Regions from separate parts of the Homo sapiens genome. Here region 1 is linked to region 2. Evidence: promoter capture Hi-C in 16 types of primary human blood cells and fetal thymus (Javierre and others, 2016). All regions are on one chromosome and are shown on one strand. Each heading gives the region's core, a stretch centred on a gene start or on the middle of the fragment in contact. The rest is flanking DNA. Distances are from core to core; before and after follow the strand shown.

What was found. Contacts are between HindIII fragments. The CHiCAGO score rates a contact against its expected background, and 5 or more counts as called.
Region 1: a contact is called between the fragment with the promoter of COPB2 here and the fragment with the promoter of GFM1 in region 2, in 1 of 17 cell types (non-activated CD4 T cells). The highest score is 5.3, in non-activated CD4 T cells.

What each region holds. Positions count from the first base shown.
Region 1 is chr3:139,387,173-139,391,565 of GRCh38, reverse strand. COPB2 (coat protein complex I subunit beta 2) reads left to right here and starts at 1,919. Exons shown (of 22, transcript NM_004766.3): 1 at 1,919-2,018. The coding sequence starts at 2,016. COPB2-DT (COPB2 divergent transcript) reads right to left here and starts at 1,763. Exons shown (of 5, transcript NR_121609.1): 1 at 1,633-1,763. It also overlaps the pseudogene LOC124906339. RefSeq lists enhancers at 1,082-1,191, 1,071-1,633, 1,402-1,701, 1,634-2,195, 1,992-2,241. The HindIII fragment of the contact is 7,530 bases long and covers 1-4,393 here.
Region 2 is chr3:158,641,626-158,646,113 of GRCh38, reverse strand. It overlaps GFM1 (G elongation factor mitochondrial 1), which reads right to left and starts at 1,587. Exons shown (of 18, transcript NM_024996.7): 1 at 1,399-1,587; 2 at 333-485. The coding sequence starts at 1,479. The HindIII fragment of the contact is 2,960 bases long and covers 990-3,949 here.

The sequences.
Region 1 (4,393 bases), core at 670-3,169, about 19 Mb after region 2:
TAGACCCTTAGGTGGCCCAGTGGTATACAAAGATTTAAGCATTCCCAGCTGAGCCCCTTGACAATAGAGATACATCATTTTATTTTGTATCACTTAGTACTGTGCCAAATCCAAAAATACTCTCTCAAGTGCAAGAGTATTCAGGAGTTAGAAATATTGAAAGTTCCACTATTCAAGCAAATTAGGTATAGTTCATATAATTTTTTCAACTCAGGATCCTCAGTCACTCCATAGAGTAAGCAAAGTATGCAATTACTAGAATTATTAGTCTCAATTTACATAAGATCACACTGCTGGCACTAAACTCCAGTTCCAGACTCTTTTTTCCACTATTGAATGCCACAGAAACATAAAAAAAAAAAAAATGGAAGGATCTTTAGAAACCATGTAGCTGGATTTTTTTTAAGATGATGAAAACTGAGGCCCATGAAGAGAGTCACATTAGCTCAAGGCTCCTACTAAAGCCAAATAATTTCGTGCAAAATCATCTCCCTCTGATTATCATTATCTACACACACAAATACATAATTTTTCTTTTTGCCTTTCTGAAAATCTGGAGGTCTGAAAAGACTTTAAGATTTCTCTCAAGTTAAAAATACACGTTTGTACGTGTAACCAGAGGGCAAGTTTTCTATGGTCCACATGTTTTCTTAAAAAAAAAAAAAAAAAGGAAATACAGGAGATGTGCAGTGCGTGTGACAGGCAAATGTTCTCGAACTTTATTGTGTAGTGTAACCCCTATGGCACAGGCCCTTAGAATTCAGCCACATTAATGAAGAGATATTTTTATGTAGTAGAAAGAGCACAAACTTTGAGGTGTTTTGTTTTGAGACAGAGTCTTGCTCTGTTGCCCAGGCTGGAGTGCAGTGGCGCGATCTCAGCTCACTGCAACCTCCACCTCCTGGGTTCTAAGCGATTCTCCTGTCAGCCTCTGGAACAGCTTGGATTACAGGCGCCCGCCACCACGCCAGGCTAATTTTGTATTTTTAATAGAGACGGGGTTTCACCATGTTGGCCAGGCTGGTCTCGAACTCCTGACCTCAGGTGATCCACCCGTTTCGGCCTCCCAAAGTGCTGGGATTACAGGCGTGAGCCACCGCGCCCGGCCCAACTTTGAGGTTTTATCTGCCACTTACTATGCAGTCTTGGCTAGAACACTTAACTTCTTTGAGCCCGAGTTTCCTCATCATTAAATGGAGATAATTCAGGTTTGATGTGAAGATTTGAGAAGAAGGTATGTCTGACACACTGCCGAAGATCGATAAATATTTGTTGAATGAATAACACAGCCAGCCGAAGCTCAACAAAAGACACATACACAAACACACCCACACGGTTGGGTAGTTGCCGTCTCCCGGGGAGCTCCAGAAGTGTAAGCTCTCAGCCCTCCCTCTGACTTCAGAAGCCTGAAGCTACTAAGCCCGCAGCCCGGTGCGTCTCTTCGCAGCCTTAATCAGTGCCCGGGCAAAGGCCTGCAGAGAATTCTCTGGGCCTCGCACCAGGCCCCAAGAACACACTGGAGACTCGTTTCGCCTTCTCCCTCGCCGTTTCCCCCCTCCAGGGCCAGAGTCCGAGGAAGCCCGATAGCGGTTCTCGGCCTCCGAAACACAACTACAACACTGGGGAGCTTGCCCTGCAGTTAGCGTCCAGCGGGGATTAGGCACTTCGTTTTCCTCATCGTTTCAATCTCTATCTTCTGGTCGGGGTCCAAGCTCAGCGGCACCACGTCACGGCCCTTAGTGGTCTAGGCCACACCCCTCCTTCCCGACAGCCTCAAGTCCACTACCAGCGGTCTGGAAGGCCACGTTGCCTAGGAAACTGGGGCGGGGCTTGGGAAACGACGGCCCTGCGCGCAGTTTGCGCAGGCGCTCCGGCCCTGGCCTCTGACTATCGCGAGAATCGGCTCCCGGAAGTTCCACGTCAGTCAGTCTGACGGTCAGTGGATCGGTGGGTTTATCTCAAGGCCTGAGTAGCCGGTAACAAACGAGGGTTCCCGGGATTGGACCGACGCAGCCATGGTAGGTCCAGATCCCGTAGAAGGGAGCGGGGTCCCATAGGTTACGGCCGATTCCTGGAGCTTCTGGACTGAGGGCCGCGGTAAGCAGTGGTCTGGGCTCCCGCTGCGGCCGCCGCCTCAGGCCTTGCGGGGTCTTGGTCGTTTGATTCCAGGAAGGGAGAAGGCGGTGGGGCCTAGGGGACCGGGGTGATTTGGGGAGGCAAAGCCTGCTAGTGAGGGGTTTTGTCTCCCCTGGCGCTTGTGGCGCTTGCCAGAGCTCCTGCAGTCTGCAGCGGGATCGGTGGTGTAGGGAAACACAGAAGCCGAATGTGTTGAACTCCGTAGGAGGCTTTGGTAAAACTAAAGTTTGCCTTTAAAACGGTGGTAGTTAATCTACACTCCTGTTGGGCTTATTCTGGGGATAGTGTGTGCTGGCTACAAACTATAAACAAGCAAAGAAGCCAAAAACAAATGTATATGGAGTCAAAAATGGAATTTCAAATGCTTTGATATCTCAGCTGTTAGGTTTCTAAGGGGAGAAGAAGGGTTGGGAGGAAGGGGGTGCTGTTTATAACACTGGCTGGTGTGCTTTTATGCATTTGCAAATCCAGTGGCTGGTAAGAATAGTAATTGTTAGAGCACTTTGTTATTATCACCGTAACCCTAAAAAACGCCCTAGACTAGTTTGCACAAGAGTGTTATAATAATAAGGAAAGAAAACGATAGTATAAGAATATCTTCCGTCTCTATTGAAAATGCAAAAAAAAAAAAAAGAAATTAGCCGGGCGTGGTGGCGGGCCCCTGTAGTCCCAGCTACTCAGGAGGCTGAGGCAGGAGAATCGCTTGAACCCGGGAGGCAGAGGCTGCAGTGAGCCGAGGTCGCACCACTGCACTCCAGCCTGGGACAGAGCAAGACTCCGTCTCAAAAAAAAAAAAAAAAAAACTTGTTATGAAGCACAGAATCAAACATTTTGGAGCTTGAAGACGCTAGGGATTAAGTCCCTCATCTTAAGTTAAAAAATTTTTTTAAATTATGTTTCTACAAGGTTAATTGTGGCAAAGTTGGAACTAGGAAAAAGTTAGGAATACTCCCAGGGAAAATGCACAGAGAAACAAACATTTTTGCATAAAATTCAGTGCATTCATTCACAGACACCCCCCCCCACAATCCATGGACCTTCTTTTTTTTTTTAATTTGTTTTATAAAAAATATGGAACGCTTCACGGATTTGCGTGTCATACTTGCGCAGGGGCCACGCTAATCTCCTCTCTATGTGCTGCCGAAGCTAGCACTATCCGTGGACTTTCTTGGGCACCCAGGTTACAGTCCCTGAACAAGACCTCAAGCCTCTTAATTAGAGCACTTCGTATTACTAACTACCTGATGTAGTTTGGGTCTGCTGTGGTTGCAGTAATGGACGTTTTTGGAAAAGGCTCTTGGATCTGCCTAATTTCATTTTCTTTTGCCGTCTTTACATTTACCAGTGTATTTCTATAATGAAATATTGCCTTCATTCTTTATATATTTTAAATCCTTTGTGGAAAATACAAAACGTGAATTCATTCATTTGTACATTTACCATAGAATATTTAGTGTCTGCCATGCACTTTGCTAAACATGGCTGCCTAATTCTCACAGCAGCTGGGAGATAGAGTTATATGTTTGTGAAGTGGTTACTGTAGGTCAGGCACTGCTCTAACTGGCTAACTCTGAATTTAATTCTTACAGCACTAAGAGGTAGATAATAATAATATTCCTGTTTTACATAAGTCAAACTTGAAAGAGGTTAAGTAAATTTGCCCACTATTGCACATCTGAAATGAGTGGTGGAACTGAAATTTAAATCCATCATGGCTTTCTAGTCTTGTGTTATGGTATCTGTTCTTAAACCCCCATACTCAAATATATAAGGTGATCTGGAGATAAAGACATGTATAAGCAATGACCCTGGCTTTAAGGAGGATCTACTCTAGAAAGCAAGAAAAGATGTGTACACAAGTGTACCATGAACAGTTAAAATGAAATCCTATAGGATTCCCTAGGAAAGAATGCTTCAGGCTAGGGTAACTAGAAAGGTCTTACTGGTGGCAGTGGCATTTAAGCTGAGTCCTAAATGCATCCAGCTTTTGGAAGGTGGAGGGATATATTTAAAGTTGAGGATACAGTGTGAGCATCCTAATCATCTTTGTCCCAAAGTACCTAGTACATTGTCTTATTCAAAATAGTCACTTAACTGTTGGGAGAAATATTATCACAAGAACCCTTGCCTGTTCGTTCTTTCTTTCTTTTCTTTCTTTTCTTTTTCTTTTCTTTCCTTCCTTACTTCCTTCTTTCCTTCTTTCTTTCTTTCTTTCTTTCTTGACAGAATCTCACTCTGTCGCCCAGGCTGGAGTGCA
Region 2 (4,488 bases), core at 338-2,837:
GGAAAGAAATCTTAACTGAAATGGAAACAGTTGCCAGGTGCAGTGGCTCATGCCTATAATCCCAGCACTGTGGGAGACTGAGGCAGGATGATAATTTGAGCCCAAGAGTTTGAGACCAGCCTGAGCAACAAAGTGAGACCTCTTCTATAAAAAATAAAAATAAAACCAGAACACAGATACTTAACTTAAGCAACTTTCAGATAAGCCTAACTGTCAAAAGTCCGCTGTTACCATTGTTTTAATCTTTCAGGTTTATAAGCTTTATTAAATAATAGCAACAAAACAATTAAAATCTGGTTCTAATTAATCCGGAATCAACCGTGAATATATACCTCATGCATCTTTGCAATTCTGCCAGTGTAGTAAAGGACTCGTTCTGTTAATGTAGTTTTCCCAGAATCAATGTGAGCTGAGATTCCAATATTTCGTATTTTTTCATTAGGAATCACCCCTGATGAAGACCATCGGCAGGCCTTCCAATTAACCTGAAAAAAATACGAGAGCTCAATTCTATGCACCTTTTATAAGAGAGAACAACAGACAATTAAAAGGAGTATGGTGGACATTATTCCTCCAAGAAATCTCACTGGATATGAGATAGCTTGAGAAAGGCACCAGGGGAAACCTTTAAGCCTGGAACTCTTGTAATCAGAGGACAGACTTCAAAACAAGACAGTAAAGACGTATTCTTTTAAAATTAATTAATGAATAAGTTAAATTTAATTAAAATGGGAGACACTTTTTACTGCAGATTTGAAAATACACACTGGGGCAGATAAAATCACAAAGACAGCTCCAAAAAATACTTTAATAGAAAATACAAATTTTAGCTTAAATTTAACTTAATTTTTTTCCCTTTCTCCTTTATTGTAGTTCACAGATGACAAATATGTTTGAGAACTTATATGCTCTATGCAGTGATGCTAGTAGCTCCAAGACAGCCCCCAAAGATTTCCAATTCCCTCCAAACAAAAACAATTCATGAAGCTTGTTTTAACTTTACTCTGGTGGCAGGGGATGGGGATCCCTATTAGATGGAATGAAGATACAATATAAACCTTTCCCTATAGGACTGCACATCCAAAATGCACAATTATTCACGGGAAAAGAGAGGCAAAAAAAAAAAAAAAAAACCTTAGAAAAGGTGGATAAAATATCAAAGTATCTGAGTGACAGACACTTTTAGTTGATTAAACCCTAGGGATACCAGAGAGCGAAACAAACGAGCTAACGAGCTAATGTGCAGGCACCGAGGTGCTTTTCAGCACTGACGAGCGACTGCCAGTATTCGGAGCTGTCAGTCATGAGGACCCAGGGGGTGTCACGGCCTTCCATTGCCCAGAAGGGATCACAAGGTTCCGGGAATGGTCCCGATTTAGCCTCTCTATGCTCCGGTACCTGCTTCCTCTGCCAGCCTAGGGAGGCGGGGGCCCTTCCGCGCCCCAGAGCCGCGACGGCTGCAGCTCCCAGGAGTCTCATGGCAAGCGCAGAGCACGCGTCAAAGTCCCGTGGCGCCGGGTGGGTTCAGCTGCCGGTAACGCACCGGGAAGCGGTCAAAGTCACGCCGGCAGCCAATGTTGTAAGAGCACTTCCGGGGCAAAGGACGCGAGGAAAAAGAGAGTGAGGAAAAGAAAGAAGAGCAACTGGATTGGAGGCGGAGCAGTGCCTACGCTGCTCGCGCGCCGTCTGCCGACTTGGAAGAGAAAGTGCAATCGCTTTGCGGAGCTAAAGAAGTGTTTGCTCCCAGTAAGACGGCATAGGTATATGGGTGAGGGAAGGGAGTCCTTTTGTCTTCGTCTTCTTTTTTAAATATTACCTCTGTATGAAGATACAGAATTTAAACATGGTTGTTAGGCCTATAAAGCAATGTGGAGAAATGTATATAACAATTTAAGTAGAAAAGAGCAAAATTGTCTATTACAAATATTAATAGGTATATATATGACATGGCCTGAAAAAGAACGTGGACAAATTATAGTGAATGAACTATCAATTACAATTACAAATACTTTTCCTCATGTCAAAATGTTATTTGTTATTGTTCGATGTCAGACATTTCATGTCCTGTCCATGTGGAAGACTGCATCCTTGACCATTCTGCTTGGATGTGTTAAGAGGCATGTTGAACCTAACAGGTCCAAAACTGAGCTTCGGATCTTCTTCCCCAAACCTTCCACAGTCTTATCCATCTCATAAATGTAAACTTTAGTGATTCTAGCCAAAAATATTAGTCGCTTTGACACCATGCTGTGACATCTCCGGTCTAATCAGTCAGCATATCCTGTAAGCTCTACTTTCAAAAAGACATCCAGGGCCGGACGCGGTGGCTCACACCTGTAGTCCCAGCACTTTGGAAGGCCGAGGCGGGCAGATCACGAGGTCATGAGATGGAGACCATCCTGGCTAACACAGTGAAACCCCGTCTCTACTAAAAATACAAAAAAAAATTAGCCGGGCGCGGTGGCGGGCGCCTGTAGTCCCAGCTACTCGGGAGGCTGAGGCAGGAGAATGGTGTGAACCCAGGAGGCGGAGCTTGCAGTGAGCCGAGATCACGCCACTGCACTCCACCCTGGGTGACAGAGCGAGTCTCAAAAAAAAAAAAAAAAAAAGAAAATCCAGAACTTACTTCTCCCCACCTCTCAGTACTGCCGTTTCTGGAGGGAACTATTGTAATAGCCTTGTAACCGATCTCACTGCTTCTATCCTTGCTGTTGTCAGTGGGCCGGTTCAGGTGCTTGACTTCACCACACAAAAGAATTTGAAAGCAAGTACAAAGTAAGAGTAGGCAAAAAAGTTTATTGTAAACCAAAAGTACACTCTGAGAGGCAGAGTGGGCTGCTCAGAAGAGAGACAGACAGCCTTTAGTATCTCTAGGGAATTCCCTTTATGGGTGAGGCAGGAGAACAGGGTCTAGAGACAGGGAACCGAAGGCCCTGCTGACTTCCTAGAGCTGAACCAAAAGGAAAACCCCACCTCTCCATGCCCAAGTAACAAAAGGATCGGAGGCTACTCCCAATGCACTGCATTGCAGATGAAAAAATGGAAAGTACCTCTGACTGGTCCCCTCTGGCAAATAATCAGACTGGTAGCAGGCCAAGTCCTCATGTGTAACTTTGTAACTTCACTTCAGCCTCTGATTGGTCACCTCCTGCAACCAAGCAGGCTGGTTATGGGCCACTCCTTCATTTACATAGGGTGTAACCAATGGGAACGCTCTAGAGGGTATTTAAATCCCAGAAAATTCTGTAACAGGTGCTCTTGAGCTGTGGAGTGTACTTTTGTTTCAACACATCTGTGCCTTCATTGCTCCATTCTTTCATTGCTTTGCTTATGTGTTTTGTCCAATTCTTTGTTCAAACGCCAAGAACCTGTATGACTCATAGTCAAGACCCTTCACTGGTAACATGGGAGCTGTACATATATATTCATAAAATACTGGTAAGGTCAAGTATGCAAAGGTGGACCTGTGGTTGGCACAGGTACTTGGCATCTACATGTTCTAACACAGGAGTCCCCAACCTCTGGGCCAGAGACCAGTATCAGTCCATGGCCTGTTAGGAACCAGGCCACACAGTAGGAGGTAAGCAGTGGGCGAGCGAGTGAAGTTTCATCTGTATTTACACCCTCTCCTTATCACTTGTATTACCACCTGAGCTCTGCCTCCTGTCAGATTAGCAGTGGCATTAGATTCTCATGGGAGTGTGAACCCCCTTGTGAACTATCCATTCAAGGGATCTGGGTTACGCACTCCTTATGAGAATCTAATGCCTGATGACCTGAGGTGGAGCTAAGGTGTGGCCGCTAGGGCTGGGGAACAGCTGCAAATACAGATTAACATTAGCAAAGAGGTTTGACTGCACAGAGACCATAATAAATCAATTGCTTGCAGATTCATATCAAAACCCTGTCAGTGAGTGTCAAGTGACAAAAGCTGCACTGGTGGCAAGCTTTATAGTGGCAAGTGAGTTGATGTATTTCAGTTGTACAGTTGCATCTGATGGCAGGCTTTAAAGTCTTGCGTGGCCCGCCCATTATTTTATTTACCACTTCCGTCCGCGCTTCCTTCCCACACTGAGCACTTGCCTCAGTCACAGTTTTGGTAAGCCCACAACCTAACTCTAGCCAAAACGAGTAAAAAACAAATGTCACTGGAGAGCTTCTTTGAAAATGGGGAAAGACCCAATGATGAGAAAATGGAAAACTCTAAGACTGCTAATAAAAGGAAAGCTGCATGTGAAAGAAAATACCTAGAGTCCTACTTAAATTGCAGGTTCACTGCAACAGGTGATTCACATTCTCCAAGCCTGCTTTATATAATATGTGGCAAGCGGCTATCCAACAAACCCATGAAACCTTCAAAACTGCTTCGCCACATGGAGACCAAGCACCCTACATAAAAAGAGAAGCCTTTGGAGTTTTTCAAAAGAAAAAATGTGGACACGAAGAACAGAAGCAATTATTGAAGGCCGCCACTTCCATCAAATGTGT